7 separate regions of the Homo sapiens genome follow, and all the other regions are linked to region 5. Evidence: promoter capture Hi-C in 16 types of primary human blood cells and fetal thymus (Javierre and others, 2016). All regions are on one chromosome and are shown on one strand. Each heading gives the region's core, a stretch centred on a gene start or on the middle of the fragment in contact. The rest is flanking DNA. Distances are from core to core; before and after follow the strand shown.

Evidence for each region. The method cuts DNA at HindIII sites, captures the fragments that hold promoters and counts their contacts. A CHiCAGO score of 5 or more calls a contact.
Region 1: a contact is called between a fragment that was not itself captured here and the fragment with the promoter of SLC16A14 in region 5, in 2 of 17 cell types (total B cells and naive B cells). The highest score is 6.6, in total B cells.
Region 2: a contact is called between a fragment that was not itself captured here and the fragment with the promoter of SLC16A14 in region 5, in 1 of 17 cell types (megakaryocytes). The highest score is 7.2, in megakaryocytes.
Region 3: a fragment that was not itself captured here is called in contact with the fragment with the promoter of SLC16A14 in region 5 in 1 of 17 cell types (total B cells); the score reaches 7.0 in total B cells.
Region 4: a contact is called between a fragment that was not itself captured here and the fragment with the promoter of SLC16A14 in region 5, in 2 of 17 cell types (total B cells and naive CD4 T cells). The highest score is 5.2, in total B cells.
Region 6: a contact is called between a fragment that was not itself captured here and the fragment with the promoter of SLC16A14 in region 5, in 2 of 17 cell types (megakaryocytes and neutrophils). The highest score is 6.1, in megakaryocytes.
Region 7: a contact is called between a fragment that was not itself captured here and the fragment with the promoter of SLC16A14 in region 5, in 5 of 17 cell types (naive B cells, fetal thymus, total B cells and 2 more). The highest score is 6.6, in naive B cells.

Annotation. Positions count from the first base shown.
Region 1 is chr2:230,716,195-230,718,894 of GRCh38, reverse strand. All of the region lies in intron 1 of CAB39 (calcium binding protein 39), which reads right to left. Among named protein-coding and RNA genes, the nearest start is that of CAB39, 4.7 kb to the right of the region's middle. The HindIII fragment of the contact is 4,922 bases long and covers 1-2,700 here.
Region 2 is chr2:230,598,787-230,601,486 of GRCh38, reverse strand. No RefSeq gene overlaps it. Among named protein-coding and RNA genes, the nearest start is that of LINC01907, 100 kb to the left of the region's middle. The HindIII fragment of the contact is 8,478 bases long and covers 1-2,700 here.
Region 3 is chr2:230,691,441-230,694,257 of GRCh38, reverse strand. The region is part of intron 3 of LOC124907996 (formin-like protein 16); the gene reads left to right. It overlaps LINC01907 (long intergenic non-protein coding RNA 1907), which reads left to right. Exons shown (of 4, transcript NR_040038.1): 4 at 2,025-2,817. Among named protein-coding and RNA genes, the nearest start is that of LINC01907, 7.7 kb to the left of the region's middle. The HindIII fragment of the contact is 8,742 bases long and covers 1-2,817 here.
Region 4 is chr2:230,666,799-230,669,652 of GRCh38, reverse strand. No RefSeq gene overlaps it. Among named protein-coding and RNA genes, the nearest start is that of LINC01907, 32 kb to the left of the region's middle. RefSeq lists enhancers at 546-685, 886-1,105, 1,486-1,565, 1,586-1,635, 1,676-2,155 and 2 more. The HindIII fragment of the contact is 4,213 bases long and covers 1-2,854 here.
Region 5 is chr2:230,067,597-230,070,296 of GRCh38, reverse strand. SLC16A14 (solute carrier family 16 member 14) reads left to right here and starts at 1,373. Exons shown (of 5, transcript NM_152527.5): 1 at 1,373-1,742. All of the region lies in intron 1 of LOC107985995 (a long non-coding RNA gene), which reads right to left. RefSeq lists enhancers at 1,310-1,369, 1,380-1,499, 1,895-2,665 and silencers at 1,730-1,999, 2,270-2,519. The HindIII fragment of the contact is 4,045 bases long and covers 1-2,700 here.
Region 6 is chr2:230,617,317-230,620,016 of GRCh38, reverse strand. No RefSeq gene overlaps it. Among named protein-coding and RNA genes, the nearest start is that of LINC01907, 82 kb to the left of the region's middle. The HindIII fragment of the contact is 2,666 bases long and covers 1-2,646 here.
Region 7 is chr2:230,645,213-230,647,973 of GRCh38, reverse strand. No RefSeq gene overlaps it. Among named protein-coding and RNA genes, the nearest start is that of LINC01907, 54 kb to the left of the region's middle. The HindIII fragment of the contact is 984 bases long and covers 866-1,849 here.

The DNA of each region.
Region 1 (2,700 bases), core at 33-2,532, 650 kb before region 5:
TTCAGTCCTGTGGCTAATAAGCCATAAAACCCTAGAAAAGAGACTTCACTTTGCAGAAAGCTACACCTGTTACTGCTCAAAGTGAACCAAACTCTGCTCTAGTTACGGTGGGCCTCAGTGTTCCCACCTGCAGAAAGAACCATTCTGCCTAGGTTGTTTCTGAAGTTCTAAAGTTTCTCCCCCCTGGAAAAGCCTATCATGAGCATCACAAAACTTATGTCTAGGCATCTGATACACGGCAGCACATCAGATGTAGCAACTCATTTAATCGTCCTACAACCCTCTCAGATATGGTCTACTATTACCATCCAAGGAATTCAAGCTAGACAGAAGGAACTTAAGGTTATAGAGCCCACAGCAGAGGAATGAGGGTTCAAAATCTAGGCAGTCTGGCTGCACCTGCGCTTTTAACCACTGGCTAACACTACCTCTCCAAATTCTATAAACCTAAAAGCGGGCCTTAACTACAGACATGTAAACAGAAACCTGTCCAAGTATTTCTTCCTAGTGCCTCAATACAGCTGATATATAATCTACTGTGGAGGGAGACAACAGTGACTAGCATGTTAATAGTCAGTACACTGTAAAGAGCAAGTTACAGTTCATGAGACAAGATCACAAAGTAGGAACTTAATTAAGATCAAGATACACAATGTATGTTTTGTTTCTCAAATGTATTACCAAATAAAGTGTGTGATCTTTTAACAGTATCATACTTCCGTGGTCCTCAACAATTTTTGCTGGATAATGCTCCCAAAGAATAATTACCATATAAAAACAAACTGCCACTAAATAATGGCTAGATTTTCCCCATCTTTGAAACATGCATATGAATACACACATAAACAAGCAAACACAATCTATAACTTAAACACTATATTCTGAGTACCAAGACAAAAGCTATTAAAGATCATACAAATAGGTATGCACTGGATATGGTCAACATGAAGGGCCAAGGCAGGATTTACCTCCCTCCTTTGGAGCCACTTCACACCCGAATGACCTCCCGCAATTCTCTGCATGCCATCCTGCCTTCCTCTGCAGGCTTAACATCACAGCTGCTATAAACCACAATTCTGCTGTCCCCTCACCCCTTCTGTTTTAAAAGTTAAAAGCACAGTGGGACTGGGAAGCTCAGTGAGACAGAAATGGCACAACACCCCCCAAAAATGCAGATGGCAACTAGCTGTTAACCTGATTTCATCACCACCAGTCTATGATCTGCCACCTAGGCCTGTAGTAACTCTTCTCATAATCCTCGGAGGGCCTGAGAAACAGAGGCAGAACACTGATCATTTTATTCACAGACTGTTCTACTCTACAAATGGTGACGGCAGAAGTATTTGCTTCACTTTGCTCTGCCCCCATATTCCGGACTGTAGAGATGAGGGGAGTTGAGTCCAGTCTCTCTTTCTCACTGCAAGACACCCTTGCAGGAGAATTTTTTAAAAAGTAGTGGTTGGGATCCGGTCGGAAAGTCACTAAGGGCACAGAACGTACGAACTCTCACACAGCTCAATTCCTTCTGTAATTAAAGAAGGCTCTAATACAAGTCTTCTTACAATGGCCAAAAGATACTGATGACTAAATTGCTATGCAAATTTAGATTACCTGACTTCATAATAATGCCAGATCTTTACACCTCAGTAATAACAAGTCACAAGTAATTTAACCCAGAGATTCAGATTTGATATTTTTTCCCCACAATTTTATCAAAGTGTGTAAAAAAAAATGTTTACCAGTTTTTCTGTTATCCAAATTAATCCACCTTCCACAGTCCCATTTCTGTAACATGTAAAGACGTTCATAAAATCAAATGCCCAATTAAAAGAAGCAATGAAAAAGAGGAAAATGAATTTTTATTTTTATTATTTTTATTTTATATATACATTTTTTGAGATGGGGTATCACTCTGTCACCTCAGGCTGCAATGCAGTGATCAAAATTCACTGAGGCTGCAAATTCCTGGGCTCAGGCAATCCCTCCTGCCTCAGCCTCTTGAGTAGCTAGGACAACAGGCACACACACCACCATGCCCGGCTAATTTTTTATTTTTGTGGATATAGGGTCTTGCTATGTTGCTCAGATCGGCCTCCAACTCTTGGGCTCAAGCAATCCTCCCACCTTGGCCTCCCAAAGCACTGGGATTATAGGAGTGAGCTACCCCGCTCGGCCTGACCTTTTAAAATAGGGCTGGAGGCCAGTGTGGTCAGGCCTATAATCCCAGTGCTTTGGGAGGCTGGGGCAGGAGGATGGCATAAGCCCAGGAGTTCAAGACCAGCCTGGGCAACAGAATGAGACACCATCTCTTTTAATTAAAACATTTTTTAAATTAAAAAATAAAATAGAGCTGGAATAGAAACAATGCCAGAAAGGTAAACAAAAGACAATACCTGAAACAAAATTCGTCCTACTACTGAATTTTATTTTTGGGGGTTGGGGAGGTTGGATTTGTGTATTTTCATGGCAGATGGCTAAACTGTGAGTGATTAGTCATCAATCTGGAAAAAAGGCTCTTGGGAAAGTATGGCAATAACTAAAGAAATCTGTAATCCCACAAAAGTTGATCAAAACAGAAAACTTTAGTAAATATTCCAAGGTAATAAAGACCCTGTGTGGCATACGTATTTGCAATATACAAACATTCAAATAAAATCAAGTTACCAAACCCCATACTTATACTGGACTTTCTTAGCAGTT
Region 2 (2,700 bases), core at 47-2,546, 530 kb before region 5:
TTTCATTGTTAATATATATGACTATTTAGCATTATCAATTTCTCATTTAGTCATTTGTAAGTGTGCAATTCAGTGGTATTAAATACATTCACAATACATTCGTGTAAACGTCACCACTATTTCCAAAACTTTTTTGTCATTCCCAATGTAAACTCTCTACCCGTTATACAAATAACACCACATTCCTTCCCCCTCCTCCCATCCCCTGGTGACCTCGATTCTATTCTCTGTTTCTATGAATTTGCTTATTCTAGGTACCTCAGATCAGTGGAATCACACATTTGTCCTTCCATGTCTGGCTACTTTCACTTAGCCCAGTGTTTTCAAGGTCCATCTACACTGCAGCACATATCAATATTTTATTCCCTTTTCATGGCTGAATACCATGCCATTGTGCATGGCCACTGAATGCTCTTGTAAACATGGGTATGCAAATATCCAAGGTAATGCTTTCACTTTTTACGGCTATACCGTATAACTAGAAGTGTTGGGATTTATAGGGTTAAGCCACTGTGCCTGTCCTTAATTTACTTTGGATATATACCCGGTAGTGGGAATTGATGGATCCTATGGTAGTTTTTTTTTTTTTTTTTTTTTTTGAGACTGAGTCTTGCTCTGTCACCCAGGCTGGAGTGCAGTGGTGCGATCTCGGCTCTCTGCAACCTCTGCCTTCCGAGTTCAAATGGTTCTCCTACCTCAGCCTCCCGAGTAGGTGGGACTACAGGTGCATGCCACCACGCCTGGCTAATTTTTATATTTTCAGTACAGATGGGCATTTCACCGTGTTGGTCAGGCTGGTCTGAAACTCCTGCCTTGGCCTCCCAAAGTGCTGAGATTACAGACCTGAGCCACCGTGCCCCGCCCGTATTTTTTATTTTTTGAAGAACCTTCACGCTGTTTTTCAGAATGGCTGCAGGAATTTACATTCCCACCAACAACATTTAAGTGTTTTCTTTTCTTTACATCCTTGCCAACACTTGTTATCTTTTGACCTTTTGGTGATAGCCATCTAACAGGTGTGAGATGATATCTCATTGTGGTTTTGACTAGCATTTCCCCGATGTTTAGTAATGTTGAGCACCTTTTCATAAACCCCTTAACCATTTGTATATCTTTTTTGGAAAAATGTCTATTCAGGTCCTTTGCCCATTTTTCAATTGGGTTATGTGTTTTTTTTTTTTTTTTGCTATTGAGTTGCATGAATTCTTTATATATTTTAGATATTTAATCCTTATCATACACCATAAATACCCCTACTCTGTACTCACAAAAATTAAATTAAGTATATTTAAAAAAGATATTAAAACTAAAGAAAAAACACTTATCAGATATATGGCTTGCAAATATTTTCTCCATTCTGTAGGTTGCTTTTTCATTTTGTTGATTATTTCCTTGGCCGCTCTGAAGTGTTTTAGTTTGTGGAAAATCCCCTTGTCTATTTTTGCTTTTGCTGCCTGCGCTTTTGGTGTCATATCAAAAAAACTTTGCCAAGACCAATGACATGGAGCTTTTCTCTTCTTTTCTTCTAGAATTTTACAGTTTTGGATCTTACCTTTAACTCTTTAATCTATTTTGAGTTAATTTCTGTGTATTGTGTAAGATAAAGATCCAATTTCATTCTTGTTGCATATGGATATTTCATTTTTCCAACATGATTTATTGAAGATACCATCATTTTCTCGTTGTGTATTCTTGGTGCCTTTGCTGAAGGCTAGTTGACCATGTATATATGGGTGTATTTCTGAACTTTCTATTGGGTTCCATTGGTCTATGGGCCTGTTTTATTTATTTATTTATTTATTTTTTTGAGACGGAATCTCACTCTGTTGTCTAGGCTGGAGGGCAATGGAGTAATCTTGACTCACTGCAACCTCCGCCTCCCAGGTTCAAGCGATTCTCGTGCCTCAGCCTTCCAAGTAGCTAGGATTACAGGTGCCCACCACCATGCTCGGCTAATTTTTGTATTTTTAGTAGAGATGTGGTTTCATCATGTTGGCCAGGCTGGTCTCGAAATTCAGACCTCAGGTGATCCACCTGCCTCAGCCTTCCAAAGTGCTGGGATTACAGGCATGAGCCACCATGCCCGGCCTATGTGTCTGTTTTTTATACAAGTACTATACTGTTTTAATTACAATATCTTTGTAATATACTTTGAAATCAGGAAGTGTGATGCCTCCATCTTCATTCTTCTTTCTCAAGATTGCCTAAGCTATTTGGGGTCTTTTTTGGCTCCACACAAATTTTAGGATTTTAAAAAAATTTCTGTGAAATACATCATTGAAATTTTCATAGGGATTGCCTGAATCTGCAGATCACTTTGTATAGCATGAGCATTTTAATGGTATTAATTATTCTGTTTGTGTCTTCTACAATTTCTTTCATCTGTGTTTTATAGTTCTTATTGTACAAATCTTTTACCTCCTTCGTTAAACTTATTCTTAAGTATTTTATTCTTTTTGATGCCAGTGTAAATGGGAATGTTTTCTTAATTTCATTTTCAAGCTGTTTGTTGTTAGTATATATTATAGAAATGCAACTAATTTTTTATTTTTATTTTTTCTTTTTCAAACTTTATTTTAGATTTGGTGGTGGGGGGTAGATGTGCAAGTTTGTTACAAAGGTCTATTGTGTGATGCTGAGGTTTGCAGTACGATTGTATCTGTCATCTAGGTAGTGAGCTTAGTACCCAATAGGTGGTTT
Region 3 (2,817 bases), core at 201-2,700, 620 kb before region 5:
ATGAAGGCCAAGGGTAAGCCTGGAAGTTAAAAGTGCCAAGGGGAGGCTGGGCGTGGTGGCTCACGCCTGTAATCCCAGCATTTTGGGAGATTGAGAAGGGTGGATCACCTGAGGTCAGAAGTTTGAGACCAGCCTGACCAACATGGTGAAACCTGGTCTCTACTAAAAATACAAAATTAGCCAGGCATGGTGGTGCACACCTGTAATCTCCACTACTTGGGAGGCTGAGGCAGGAGAATCACTTGAACCTGGGAGGTGGAGGTTGCAGTGAGCCAAGATCACGCCATTGTACTCCAGCCTGGGCAACAGGAGCGAAATTCTGTCTCAAAAAACAAAACAAAACAAAACAAACAAACAAACAAACAAAAAAAAACTGCCAAGGGGAAGCCCTACAATCTGGGGAGGGGGAGGCCAAAAAAATAAAAGGCATGCACATTTTTAATCAATCTGACCTCATCTCATTCCCCTTCTTGGTGGGGGCACAGGACAGGCAGTGATGGCTCCACTGGGTTGAGTGTGTAGTCAGGGGTGTTTGAAGGCAGCAAGCAACAGGACTTGCCATCTCTGCAACTTCACAGGAATCGAAAGGTGCTCTTCCTGATTTCAGCAAGGTCATGTGACAAAAAGGGTGAGGAGACCCAGATGATGTCTCCATTCTGTAATCATCTCTTTGGCTGCCTGAGGCTCCACCATCCATAGTTGATTTTCCTTTGATGTGTCAGATACCTGCTTCAGCTTGATAAAACAAGCATGTCGGTGGCGAGGTCCCGCGGGCTAGTGATAACCGGGGAACCCCTGAGAATTCTTAGGGACTTTGGGTATTCTCTGTGATGTTCCCAGGCCTTGCCCAGTGCCTGTACAGAGGAGGCAATTCATGGTGCTTGAGAATCTGTACTTACTGCAGAAAGTGTGTTCTGGGTCATATAAAGAATAACAAAGTAAGCCGGGCATGGTGGCTCACACCTGTAATACCAGCACTTTGGGAGGCCGAGGTGGGCACAGCACTTGAGGCCAGGAGTTCAAGACCAGTCTGGGCAACATGGCAAAACCCCGTCTCTACTAAAAATACAAAAATTAGCCAGGCGTGTTGGTGCCTGCCTGTAATCCCAGCTACTCAGAGGCTGAGGCATGAGAATTGCTTGAACTTGGGAAGTGGAGGTTGCAGTGAGCCAAGACCATGCCACTGCACTCTAGCCTGGGTGACAGAGTGCGACTCTATCTAAAAAAAAATAATAATAATAACAAAGTAGAAAGACTCATCAGAAGCAAGATAGGAGAATGAGTTATGCTGACTGTATGGCATGTAGCCAGGGGAGATGTTAAAATTATTCAGTAAGTATAACTATACAGGCACCAACTAAATACAGTGGATTCCAGCTGAAAATCAGTCTTGTGTGTAGCGGTGGTAGGATGCCTCTGAGGACTGGCCCACTTATTGTTTTTTGTTTTGAGATGAAGTCTTGCTCTGTTTCCCAGGCTGGAGTGCAGTGGTTCACTGCAACCTCTGCCTCCCGGGTTCAAGTGATTCTCCTGCCTCAGCCTCCTAAGTAGCTGGGACTGCAGGTGCCCGCCACCACACGGGGCTAATTTTTGCATTTTTGTAGAGGCAGGGCTTTACCATGTTGGCCAGACTGGTCTCAAACTCCTGACGTCAAGTGATTTACCTGCCTCGGCCTACCAAAGTGCTAGGATTACAGGTGTGAATCCTAGCACTGCGTCTGGCCACACTTTCAACAAAGATGGGGGATAGAGAGGTAGACTGACATACATTAGGCTTTGTACTATGTCTCCAGAATTGGGATGCAAACTGTGGCCAGTGGGTAGTTCGTGGATTTAGGACTCAACCTTGATGAACAGAGCTATGATGGCTGGAAGTGGGGCTCTGGTACAAGAAATGGTGTGGATTGTCTTGTTTATGTCATCCATAGCACCAGCATTTCAAGGGACCAAGAATATTACAGAGTCCAGTTTTTCAGAGGCTCTGGCATCAGAAATGAGTAAAGAAGTCTTCATTGTCTTCCTAGGCCTGACCTTGACCTGAGTATGTCTTGCCAGAAGATCTGACATCTGCGTCCCTCTACGTTGATGTCATGGCAGAATGCACACCCGTATTCTGGCTTTTTCCCCAAGGAACATGCTGGAGGGGTCAAAATGGCAGAGCTAGCCCCCTGCCCCGTTCTCTGCACTTTTGGAATCCCTGCAGAATGGGTGGGAGACCTTGTCTAGGGACGGCTGTGGTAGGCATTGGCTTGCAGCTGGTATCTGGTTATGCTGGTGGATTTTAAGATTGCTCAGTGATAACTGTTTCACGATGGAGAATCTTCTTCAAGTCAGGGTGGTCTTGGCTGACTCCTGTTATTTGGGCTTGTATAACAAGGTTTTAACCAAGTGGTTGCCTAGAACCTGGTTGTTTGAAAATTCCAATCGTTCAAAGTTAAGTGCCTACTCTAAGTGGCCAAGACTAAGTTTTCCTGGCTCAAAGTGGTGTCAAGCTGCAGTGGCCGTTCCTCAGGGACCTCTGATGCCAAGTTTCATCTCTCTAAGCCTTAAAGCCTATTTTTATGTAATTCATGTGCTTGGAGATGACTTTGAACAGGACTGGTCTTTTAAAAATAAGCAGAAGAACAAAAGTCCTCTAGCAATATCATGGCCCTATATGCATGGCTGAGAGGTTCCCAAGTCGGCAGACAGCTCCATGTCCAACTACCTAAGTGAGGATGAAACCAAAGTCTTCCAGTTAGGGGGGCCAGGAGCAGTGGGGTGTCCAGCAAGGGTTGCAAGGAGTAGTCAAGGACCTCTGTGGTTATGCTCTTGGCA
Region 4 (2,854 bases), core at 320-2,819, 600 kb before region 5:
ACTTCATTCTCAGCCTGTCGGACTTCCCGAGGCTCCACTAGACTCTGTCCTGGCTGTCATGACAACAGCGGCAGAGTCCCTGGAGAAGGCTGATGGGCGATGGGAAGGCTCTTACATCTAGGAGTTCTAGATGTATGTTTTTTTGGAGGCATGTCCCATAAACCTCGGGAATTCCTGAGCAAGTGCGTGTGTTGGGCCAAGGGCTGGGGAGCTGGGCCAGCGGTCCAGGTCCCTCTCCTCAACAAAAGGAAATGGATTTGTACTGGACTTCTTGAGGAGATCTAATGTCAATCCCAATAAGCTGTCTTCCTGATGGAGTTTCAAGGGTAATTTAAACTCTGAACTCTTTTAACCTTATTTGCTAACTTTAGACCTAACCTGCATGTAGCATGCTGTCACTGTGTAATAAAACGCTCATTCATTCATTCCACCCACACTTACCAAGGGCTTATTTTGAGCTAAGCACTGTGCCAGGGCTGGGGACACAGGGCTGTACTGTGGTTTCCAACCACAGTTACCCCACACACTGAGAAAGGGAGAGCTCTCTTTGTGAGGTGGTGGTCGGGGCAGATTTCCTGGGATGGGTGGGCCTGGGGCAGGTCAAAGAGAAATTGAAATTGGACAGAAAAAGGAGCTTTTTGGAGGGATGAGGGGGCATCATGAGTAAAGACAGCCTCTGCTCCATGTGCATTCTCTGGCATGGTGGAGATTAGTAGGCCTCAGTCAGGCTGAGAAAAACCTAAAATTAGCCTGACCAGCTGGGCCTGGGCTGTGTGGGACTCTCCCTCACCCCCCTTGCCTTCTCAGGTTTCAGAAAGCCCGAGTATGTGCAGGAACAGCATGCTTTGCCCAGGTCGTGGCAGGCAGATCAGGGCACCTGGGGCCGGGCCGGGCAGAGGGTGCAGCTCCCAGCAGGGATGTTGTCTTTTATACGGGTTCCCCAATTCTGCAGGCCTGGCAAGAGGGAAGGGGGAGACTGCCCTTCCCATCTTCTTCTTGATGCCACTTCCTCTTTGGCTTGTTCCTTCCCCTTCCAGATCTGCAAAGCCTGGCAGTGTGGCACTGCCCAGGCCAGCAAACCAGAGACACAGCACGGCAAGCCCCACCAGGGGAAAGAGGCTTGGATGGGCAACTTCCTGGACACTGGGGAGGAGCAACCAGAAAGCCTCATCCTCACCCACTTTACCCTGTTCCACCTTCCTTTCTGATCTAGCCTGAAATTCCCTCCGTTAGTCACCATCAGCAAAACCGCAGAGCATGTGCTATGATCAAGACTTAGAAGTTGTGTGAGAAGCTAATCTCACCTCCAAAGGTGCTGGAGCTGGTCTGAGTGGGTGAGGAGCAGCGGTGCATGGCACCACGTGCATGGTGGTGGGGAAGGTGGGAAAGAGATGGCCAGCCTGGTGGTGCTGGCGGTGGTGGGGGCTGGGCAGCAGGGTGGCCTTTCCCACTTAGTGTCCGTCCCATCCCTACATCAGATATTCATGACTTGTTTCTTCTCCCTAGATGGCACTGTCTGGTACTCTCTGCCTTCTCATCTTCCTCTAGTCTGGGGTCCCTCCTTCTGGGTCACCAACTCCAAGACAGTTTGCAAATGCCAGTCCCCCTATCTGAAACAGTGCTGGAAGTTTCTGGAGCCAGAAGCATTGCTGAGCATGGGTAGTAGGGGCCCAGGAAGGCTTCCAAAGAGATGGGGCTGATGCAGGGCCCCAGAACAAGTTGCCCAGCCTGAGCTCATGGCCACAGTTGCTGTTATTTGCAGTTTTTGGAGTCTTACAATTTGCCCTGCCATGCTAGGCAATGGGTGACCACTGGCCACTCGCAGGCTAGACACCCTCAGATGGGGCCCAGGATTTTAAAATTTGTCAAATTAGATGCCCATTCAAAAACTGGGAGATTTCACGTGAAGTCAGAGTTTCTGACTTCTCTTGAAACATAAGAAGATAGGGCCCCATTTGAGGTGACTAACCAAGCTGGCTTCCTGGGACTCACCCAGTTTAGGCACAGAAAGTACCTTGTCCCAGGAAACCCTGGACAGGCTCCCAGAGCCCTGCAGGGCAACAGTAAACTGGAGTGGACTTGCTCACCCTCTAGGGCTCGTCAGCCCTGTTAGGGGCTAAATTGCACCCTCTTCAAATATGCATGTTGAAGTTCTAACTGCCAGTATCTCAGAATGTGACCTTATTTGGAAAGAGGGTCATTGCAGATGTAATGAGTTAAGATGAGGTCATACTGGAGTAGGGTGGGCCCCTGATCTGACTTCTGTCCTCGAAAAAGGGGAAATGGGAACACAGACACACACAGGGAAGATACCACATGCTGAAGGCAGAGACTGGGTGACGTGTCTCCAAGCCAAGGAATGCCAAAAACGGCCAGCAACCCCCAGAAACTCAGGGAGAGGCCTGGAATGGATCCTTCCCAGTGCTTTTGGAGGGAGCATGGTGCTGCTAACACCTCGATTTCAGGCTTCTGGCTTCCAGACCTGTGAGTCGACACAGTTCCATTGTTCTAAGCCACCCAGTTTGTGTGTACTTCATTACGGCGCCCTAGAAAACCAGTACACGCTCCTACCATGCCCTGCAGTTTTGTCATACATTCACCAGGCCTGCCTGGCCCCAGAGGCATTAGCCTTCTCACTTGCAGAAAATCCCCTGATGAGTTAAGCCAGATGTTGATGAGATCACTCCAGGGGTCCTGAGAGGGAAGGAGAAAGGTGGGTCTGGAGAGCATATGCCCCAGCCCTCAGGGGAGAGAGTGCTGGTGTCCCCAAGCAGCAAGTTCTCCAGTACTCACAGTATCCAGGAGGTGACCAGAGACCTGGGGGTGGGAGACAGGTGGGGCACCTGGGCTGGTA
Region 5 (2,700 bases), core at 124-2,623:
ATAATGAGACTCCGTCTCTATAAAAAGTCAAAAAAATTAGCCAGGCATGGTGGCGTGTGCCTGTAGTCCCAGCTACTCAGGAGGCTGAGGTGGGAGGATCACCTGAGCCCAGGAGGTTGAGGCTGCAATGAGCTGTGATCATGCTACTGCACTCCAGCTTGGGTGACCGAGGAAGGCAATGTGAAATACATGTGAATTTTTTTTCAAAGAAACGAAAAAGAAGGAAGAAAAGAAAAAGGAAAAGAAGAAAGAAGGAAATCTGTGGTAGGCAGAATAATGGTCTCCCAAAGATGTCCACATCCTAATCCCTGGAACATGTGAATTTGTTACCTTACATGGCAAGAGGGGAATTAAGGTTGCAGATGGAATTAAGGTTGCTAATCAGCTGACCTTAAAATAGAGAGATTATCTGGATTATCTCATTGGACTCAATGTAATCCCCAGGGTCCTTAAAAGTGGACAGGGGTGGGGGCAGAAAAGGGGAGACAAGGCAATGTGAGTATGGAAAGAAGACAAAATGACGCAGCAGTGCTGGCTTTGAAGATGGAGGAAGAGCCACCAGCCAAGGAATGTGGGCGGCCTGCAGAAGCTGGTGGCTCTCCCCTACAGCCACGAGAAGGAACACAGCCTTCAAGGTGGCCAACACCATGATCTCAGCCTAGTATGACCCATTTCAAACTTCCGACCTCCAGAACTGTAAAATAGTGAATTTGTGTGGTTTTCCTCTGCTATTACTGTGGCAGTTTATCACAACAGCAGCAGAGAATTACTGCAAAACCTTCAGGCGGGAAAAAACAGCACAGGCTTCATCGACTCACACATTCACTTCAATAATACAGAAAACTGTCCAAGGCAAAGCACTATGTTGTGTGCCCTGCTGGGAATGAGGTAGGGAGGTATTGAGATGAAAGTTGTGCCTGGTGCCCACGAAGGTAGGTAATGGACGTGCAGAAAGAGCAGGGAGAGGTGGGACCCAGGGTGGAAACAAGAATGAGGGACTGGCCGGTCACGGTGGCTCAGCTTGTGATCCCAGCACTTTGGAGGCCAAGGCCAGAGGATTCCTTGAGTCCAAGTGTTCGAGACCAGCCTGGCAATATAGTGAAACCCGTGTCTCTAAAAGAGAGAGAATAAGGGACTTTGAGTCCTCTTTGGCCAAAAATATTTCAGTGAGGGTCTGTTTCATCCCTTCTCTCCCATCTCAGAGAAATGGAGGCTACTGCTAGTCTCACTTGCATCCTGGATTAGATTTCAGGACCTTTCCGCCAGTGATAAATGTGCAGCGCCTTAGCGGAACCTCAGCCAAAGCTATAAACTTCAACCGGCCACAAGAGTGTGCATGTGAGGTGACTGCATTTTTTTTCCCTGCCAAACCAGAATTAGCCGGTATAGGAATGAACGAGCATGAAGATTTGAAATTGCTCCGATTGGAAGGAAGCCCAGGTTAGGTTTGGGCACCTCCAAACGCACCCGTTTTAAAGCCACCTGGACTGAGGCGTCGAGCTTTCAGCTCCACCAAACGCTCACCTGGCCTGGCAGCGAGCGGCGGAAGAGCCCGGGAGCCCCTCACAGAGCGCACCGAGCCGGGCGGAGAGCTGAGCCGCAGGCACCCGCGTCTCCAGGATGATAGGCGACATTGCAACAAATCTCTACACCCAGCAGCTCAGGGGGCTCCAAGCAGAGCAGCAAGTTCGAGGATCCGGGCGTGGAGCCGAGTGAGGCCGCAGCCCAGCGGGCCTCGGGCGGTGAGTATCCGAGGCCGCGCGCGCCGCGGGCCTGGGGAATGGAGCGACGCCGGGGGCATCGGAGCCTAGGTTTCAGATGGCCGCTGCACCCCCAGGGACCCCCGGGAAGGGGCAGCCCCAGCCCAAGGCAGGCTCGGGAAAGGCTGCCCGGGCGGTGGAGGGCGAGACTGTGCCGGGGCAGGTGGTAGTGCCAAGGCCGCCGCGGGGGCTTGGGAGCTGCGGGCGGGCAGGGTAACCGGCGGTTCAGGGCAGACCGCCAGGCGGAGCTTGGGGACGCGCGCCTTGCTGCTCAAGCTGGCCGGGGCCCCGCGAGCGTCATCCTGGGCACCCCCGTCCGGCTGGAGAAGCGCGTTCTGCCCGGAGCCCAGCCTCGCTGCCCGGCTGCTCTCTAGGCCCGTTTGGGACTCGAACTGGACAGTGATGAGGCGCAGAGCGGGGGACCCGGGGCTGCGCCTAGGGACTTCGCGGGGTGCGGATGCCTCTCTGCACAGGCTGTGGTGCTGCAGCCGGCCCAGCTTCCCCGGTGGGCTGCTGGCTTCCGAACGCGCCGAGGGATGCGGGGTGCCCGAAGTGGGGATGTGGTCTCGGGGTGCCAAGGGAGCGGGAGCACCGAGCGCGGGTGGGGGCGGGCGCTCGAAGGGTGGGGCGCGAGGCCGGACCCCGCGGGCACGATCCCGCACCCAGGGCGCGCAGAGGCTGGGCCCCCTTAGCGCTTCCGATTGAGGCTCCTCAAGAGAGGCTGAAATGGGGTGAGAGACCGGGGACGGCCATTTCGGGGCTAAACGCTGCCAAGGCCATGACGATGTTTTAGGAGCTGAACTCTGCTTTCCAATTAAGCCATTTTCTTTCTGAGGAAAAGTTGATTCGGGCTCATTAACAAGGATGACTGAGGGCCATTATTGGGGCTTAGAGAGATTCTCCTTTGCCTTGTCTGGCTTCTTTGTTTGCATGTGCGTGC
Region 6 (2,700 bases), core at 64-2,563, 550 kb before region 5:
CCTGTTTGAGGTGTCTGTTGGCCCCTACTGGGAGGTGTTCCCCAGTCAGGCTACATGGGGGTCAGGGACCTAACTGAGGAGGTAGTCTGTCTGTTCTTGGTGTTCAAATGCCATGCTGTGAGAACCACTGCTTTCTTCAGAGCTGTCACACAGGGACATTTAAGCCTGCAGAAGCTGTCTGCTGCCTTTTGTTCTATTATGCCATGCCCCCGGAGGTGGAATCTATAGAGGCAGTAGGCCTTGCTGAGCTGAGGTGGGCTCCGCCCGGTTCATGTTTCCAGGCCTCTTTGTTTATACTGTGAGCTAGTCAAGCCTCAGCAATGACGGACTCCCCTCCGCTCGTCCAGCTACAGCATCGCAGGTTGATCTCACACTGTTGTGCTAGCAGTGAGCAAGGCTCTGTTGGCATGGGACCCGCTGAGCCAGGCATGGGAGGGTATCTGCTGGTTTGCCAGTTGCTAGGACTGTGGGCATAGTGCAGTATTTGGTCAGAAGTATACCATTTCTCCAGGTACAGTCTGTCATATGGCTTCCCTTGGCTAGGAAGGAGAAATCCCCCAACCCCTTGCACTTCCCAGGTGAGGCGACACCCTGCCCTGCATCAGCTCACCCTCCATGGGCTGTATCCACTGTCCAACCAGTCCCAGTGAGATGAACCAGGTACCTCAGTTGGAAATGCAGACATCAACCGTCTTCTGCATTGATCTCGCTAGGGGCTGCAGACTGGAGCTGTTGCTATTTGGCCATCTTGGAAGTGACCTTCTCTTCTCTTCTCTTCTCTTCTCTTCTCTTCTCTTCTCTTCTCTTCTCTTCTCTTCTCTTCTCTTCTCTTCTCCCCTCCCCTCCCCTCCCGTCCTCTCCCCTCCTCTCCTCTCCCCTCCCCTCCCCTCCCTTTCCTTTCTCTTTTTTTCTTTCTCTCTCTTCCTTTCCTTTCCCTTTCTTTCTTCCTTTGTTTCCCCTTCATTTCCTTCCTTCCTTCCTTACCTCCCTCCGTCCCTCCTTCCTTCCCTCCCTCCCTCCCTTCTCTTTCTCTCTCTTTCTTTCCTTTCTCTCTCTCTCTCTTCCTTCTCCTTTCCTTTCCTTTCCCTTCCCTTCTCTTCCTTCTCTTTTCTTCTCTTTCTCTTTCTTCTGGGCTTCACTCTTTTGACCAGACTGGAGTGCAGTGGCATGATCACAGCTCACTGAAACCTGCCTCCCAGCCTCAAGCAATCCTCCCACCTCAGCCTCCTGAGTAGCTGGGCCACAGTTGTGAACTGCCATGCCAAGCTAATTTTTGTATTTTTTGTAGAGACAGGGTTTTGCCATGTTGTCCAGGATGGTGTTGAGCTCCTGGACTCAAGAAATCTGCCTGCCTCGGCCTCCTAAAGTGCTGGGATTACAGGTGTGAGCCACTGCAGCCAGCCAAAAAATCTCTTCTTATAAGAAGAAAGAGTGTAAATGGGTTGAGAATGACAATTGCAAAAGGAGTCACTGGGTGTCATATTGAAATGACTTCACAGTTTGGGCTGCAAGTGTTTTGATGGTGTCTCTGGTCAATATGTCTGTCTTAGCCATGACCTGGAAAGTTCTCTAACTTAAGAGTTTAAGACAACAAGTCCAGGCGCAGTGGCTCATGTCTGTAATCCCAGCACTTTGGGAAGCTGAAGTGGGCAGATCACTTGAGGCCAGGAGTTCAAGACCATCCTGGCCAACATGGTGAAACCTTGTCTCTACTAAAAATACAAAAATTAGCTGGGCATGGTGGCAGGCACCTGTAGCTCCAGCTACTTGGGACGCTGAGGTGGGAGGATTGCTTGAACCCGGGAGGCGGAGGTTGCGGTGAGCTGAGATCACGCACTCCAGCCTGGGTGACAGAGTGAGACTCTGTCTCAAAAAAAAAAAAAAAAAAGACAACAGAAAATTAATAGATATAGGAAGCCCCAAGATGAACTTCTGATTTCTGATTCTTCTTGAGTCAAAACTCACCTGAGCAGGGCTTTGGAATAGTTACTTCTCTGGTCCCACCTGGATTTCTCTTTCATTCTGTTCCAGTTCAGCCCATTTGGTTCCAGGTGTCCTACAGAGATGCTGCCCTGCCCTGTGTAGCTGGGAACTCCCTAACTCAATGTTCAATGGCAGGAACATTTCAGTCTCTGTGCCTGCAGCTGTTCCAAGTTAAATAAAACCCTTTTTCAGCTGTGATGGAGAGTACTTTGCTCTAGTGCTTTCTGCAAAAATACTTGTTGCCAGTTATTTATAAGTTTGGAAATGAAATGATTTTTTTTTCTTTTTTCTTTTTTTTCCAGACGGAGTCTCGCTCTGTCACCCAGGCTTGAGTGCAGTGGCGCCATCTCAGCTCACTGCAACCTCCACCACCCGGGCTCAAGAGATTCTCCTGCCTCAGCGTCCTTAGTAGCTGGGATTATGGGCATGTGCCATCACGCCCGGCTAATTTTTGTGTTTTTAGTGGAGACAAAGTTTCACCATATTGGCCAGGCTGGTCTTGAACTCCTGACCTCAGATGATCCGCCCGCCTCGGTCTCCCAAAGTGCTGGGATTACAGGCGTGAGCCACCCCGCCCGGCTAAGGGAATTCCTTTCTTATGATGTGTGTTTATTACACACAAATATAAAGGGCATTAAACTTCCTGTGTAACTCCCTTAAGCTTCTTCCCTAAGGCTTGGAGATTTTCTCTTTTAGCATTTTACTCTTGTGAGCTGT
Region 7 (2,761 bases), core at 108-2,607, 580 kb before region 5:
GCTGCTGGTTGCTTATTTTTTATGGTTATTTCTTGATTATATGCTAAACAATGGGTGGGTTATTCATGCTTCCCCTTTTAGACCATATAGGGTAACTTCCTGACGTTGCCATGGCATCTGTAAACTGTCATGGCGCTGGTGGGAGTGTAGCAGTGAGGACCACCAGAGGTCACTCTCTTGGTCATCTTGGTTTGGGTGGGTTTTAGCTGGCTTCTTTACTGCAACCTGTTTAATCAGCAAGGTCTTTATGACCTGTATTTTGTGCTGACCTCCTGTCTCATCCAGTGACTTAGAAGGCTTAACCATCTGGGGATGCAGCCCAGTAGATTTCGGCCTTATTTTACCCGGCTCCTAATCAAGACGGAGTTGCTCTGGTTCAAACGCCTCAGACAAAGTGATCCACTCACCTTGGCCTCCGAAAGTGCTGGGATTGTCACTGCCCCGACACTTCAATACTATCTTGTTTTTTTTTTCTTATTAATATAAGAAGACAGGAATGTCAGGCCTCTGAGCCTAAGCTAAGCCATCATATCCCCAGTGACCTGCATGTACACATCCAGATGGCCTGAAGCAACTGAAGAATCACAAAAGAAGTGAAAATGGCTGGTTCCTGCCTTAACTGATGACATTGCACCATTGTGATTTGTTCCTGCCCCACCTTAACTGATCAATAAACCTTGTGAAATTCCTTAGAAGCTCCCCCACTGAGCATCTTGTGACCCCCGCCCCTGCCCGCAAGAGAAAAACCCCATTTGACTGTAATTTTCCACTACCCACCCAAATCCTATAAAACTGTCCCACCCTTATCTCCCTTTGCTTACTCTTTTTGGACTCAGCCGCCCTGGACCCAGGTGATTAAAAAGCTTTATTGCTCACACAAAGCCTGTTTGGTGGTCTCTTTACACGAACGCGCGTGACAGGGATTACAGGTATGACCCACTGCACCCAGCCTAGGCTAGACCCTTAATCACACGTGGCTTGCAGATATTTTCTCCCATTCTGGGGCCAATTTGTGTTTCTAAAAGATCTCTCTGGCTGCTAGTTGGACAGTAGATTGTGCGGAGGAAGCAGAGCTAGAAGCCGGGTGAACAGAGAGGAGTGAATGCAGTCATCTAGAGGAGAGATCACGGTGGTCAGAATAAATTTCAACCCTCTAAGGCATGAGGCACACCCTTGGGTCTGCTCTAACATCTGGGTCTGCTTCTGGCCCTGGCACTGCCTTTGACCCTGGCTTCTCCAAACCCCTAGACTCTGATGTGTTTTCCTTCCATAGTTTTGCTCACCCAAGCCTGATTTCAGTTTATGTCTGTGTCCCCATTTTCCCTTCAATTTCCTTATATATTAATTTTTTTTACAGGGTCTCGTTCTGTTACCCAAGCTGGAGTGCAGTGGCACGATCATAGCTCATTGCAGCCCCGAACTCCTGAGCTCAAGCGATCCTCCCACCTCAGCCTCCAGATAGCTGGGGCTACAGGTGTGTGCTACCATGCCTGGCTAATTTTTTTCAAAATGTTTTTGTAGAGAAGGGGTTTGTGTTTCTCAGGCTTCTTCTATATTAATTTTATCTTTCCAAATTAGGTAGTTTTGTGCATCACCTCACATCCCTTTTGTAATGAGGAATGAGAATAAAGCATGAGAAAATATAGGGGGGTAGATAGGGAACTGGAGGATGGACTTCTGGCCTCCATGGACTCACAGAAGCTGAGCCACCGCTCCTTCTCCTCGTGCCTGCCCTTCTCCCAGCTAGTCTGGCTCTAACTTAAAGTTCCATTTCCCAGATTTCCATTTGCCCATGATGCACTGGGAGCCTGGTAAGTGACTGAGGAGTGGAGAGAGGCAATAGAAAGCTTTGGGGGAAAGCCCACAGATCCTTGAAAACACAGACACTCCATGTTTTCTAGTCTGGAACATCACTTTCAGAATCTGCCTGTCACTGAGCTTTCTTAGGCATGAACCGAAGCAGGAACGTCCCACCCTTTATTCTGTGAGTTAAGACTCGGCTGCAAAAGTTGCTGGATACAAAGTCTATATATAAGAATCAATGGGATTTTTACAAACTAGAAACAAACCAGTAGAAATAATTTTTCTCGGCCGGGCGCAGTGGCTCACATGCATAATCCCAGAACTTTGGGAGGCTGAGGTGGGCGGATCACCTGATGTAGGAAGTTCGAGACCAGCCCGGCCAACATGGCGAAACTCCGTCTCTACTAAAAATACAAAAATAAGCCGGGCGTGGTGGCGCATGCCTGTAATCCCAGCTACTTGGGAGGCTGAGGCAGGAGAATCCCTTGAACCCAGGAGTTGGAGGTTGCAGTGAGCCGAGATCGTGCCACTGCACTCCAGCCTGGACAACAGAACAAGACTCCGTCTCAAAAAAAAAAAAAATTTCCCCTTTTTTTTTTTTTGAGAGAGTCTCGCCCTGTCAGCCAGGCTGGAGTGCAGTGGTACGATCTCATCTCACTGCTACCCTCTCCTCCTGGGTTCAAGTGATTCTCATGCCTGTGCCTCAGCCTCCTGAGTAGCTGGGATTACAGACACCTACAATCACACCTGGCTAATTTTCATATTTTTAGTAGAGATGGGGTTTTACCATGTTAGCCAGGCTGGTCTCGAATTCCTGATCCCAAGTGATCTGCCTGCCTCGGCCTCCCAAAGTGCTGGGATTACAGGAGTGAGCCACTGCACCTGGCCAGTCTTTCTTTCAAATTTTAGAGACAGGGTCTTGCTGTATCGCCCAGGCTGGAGTACAATAGCTCTTTAC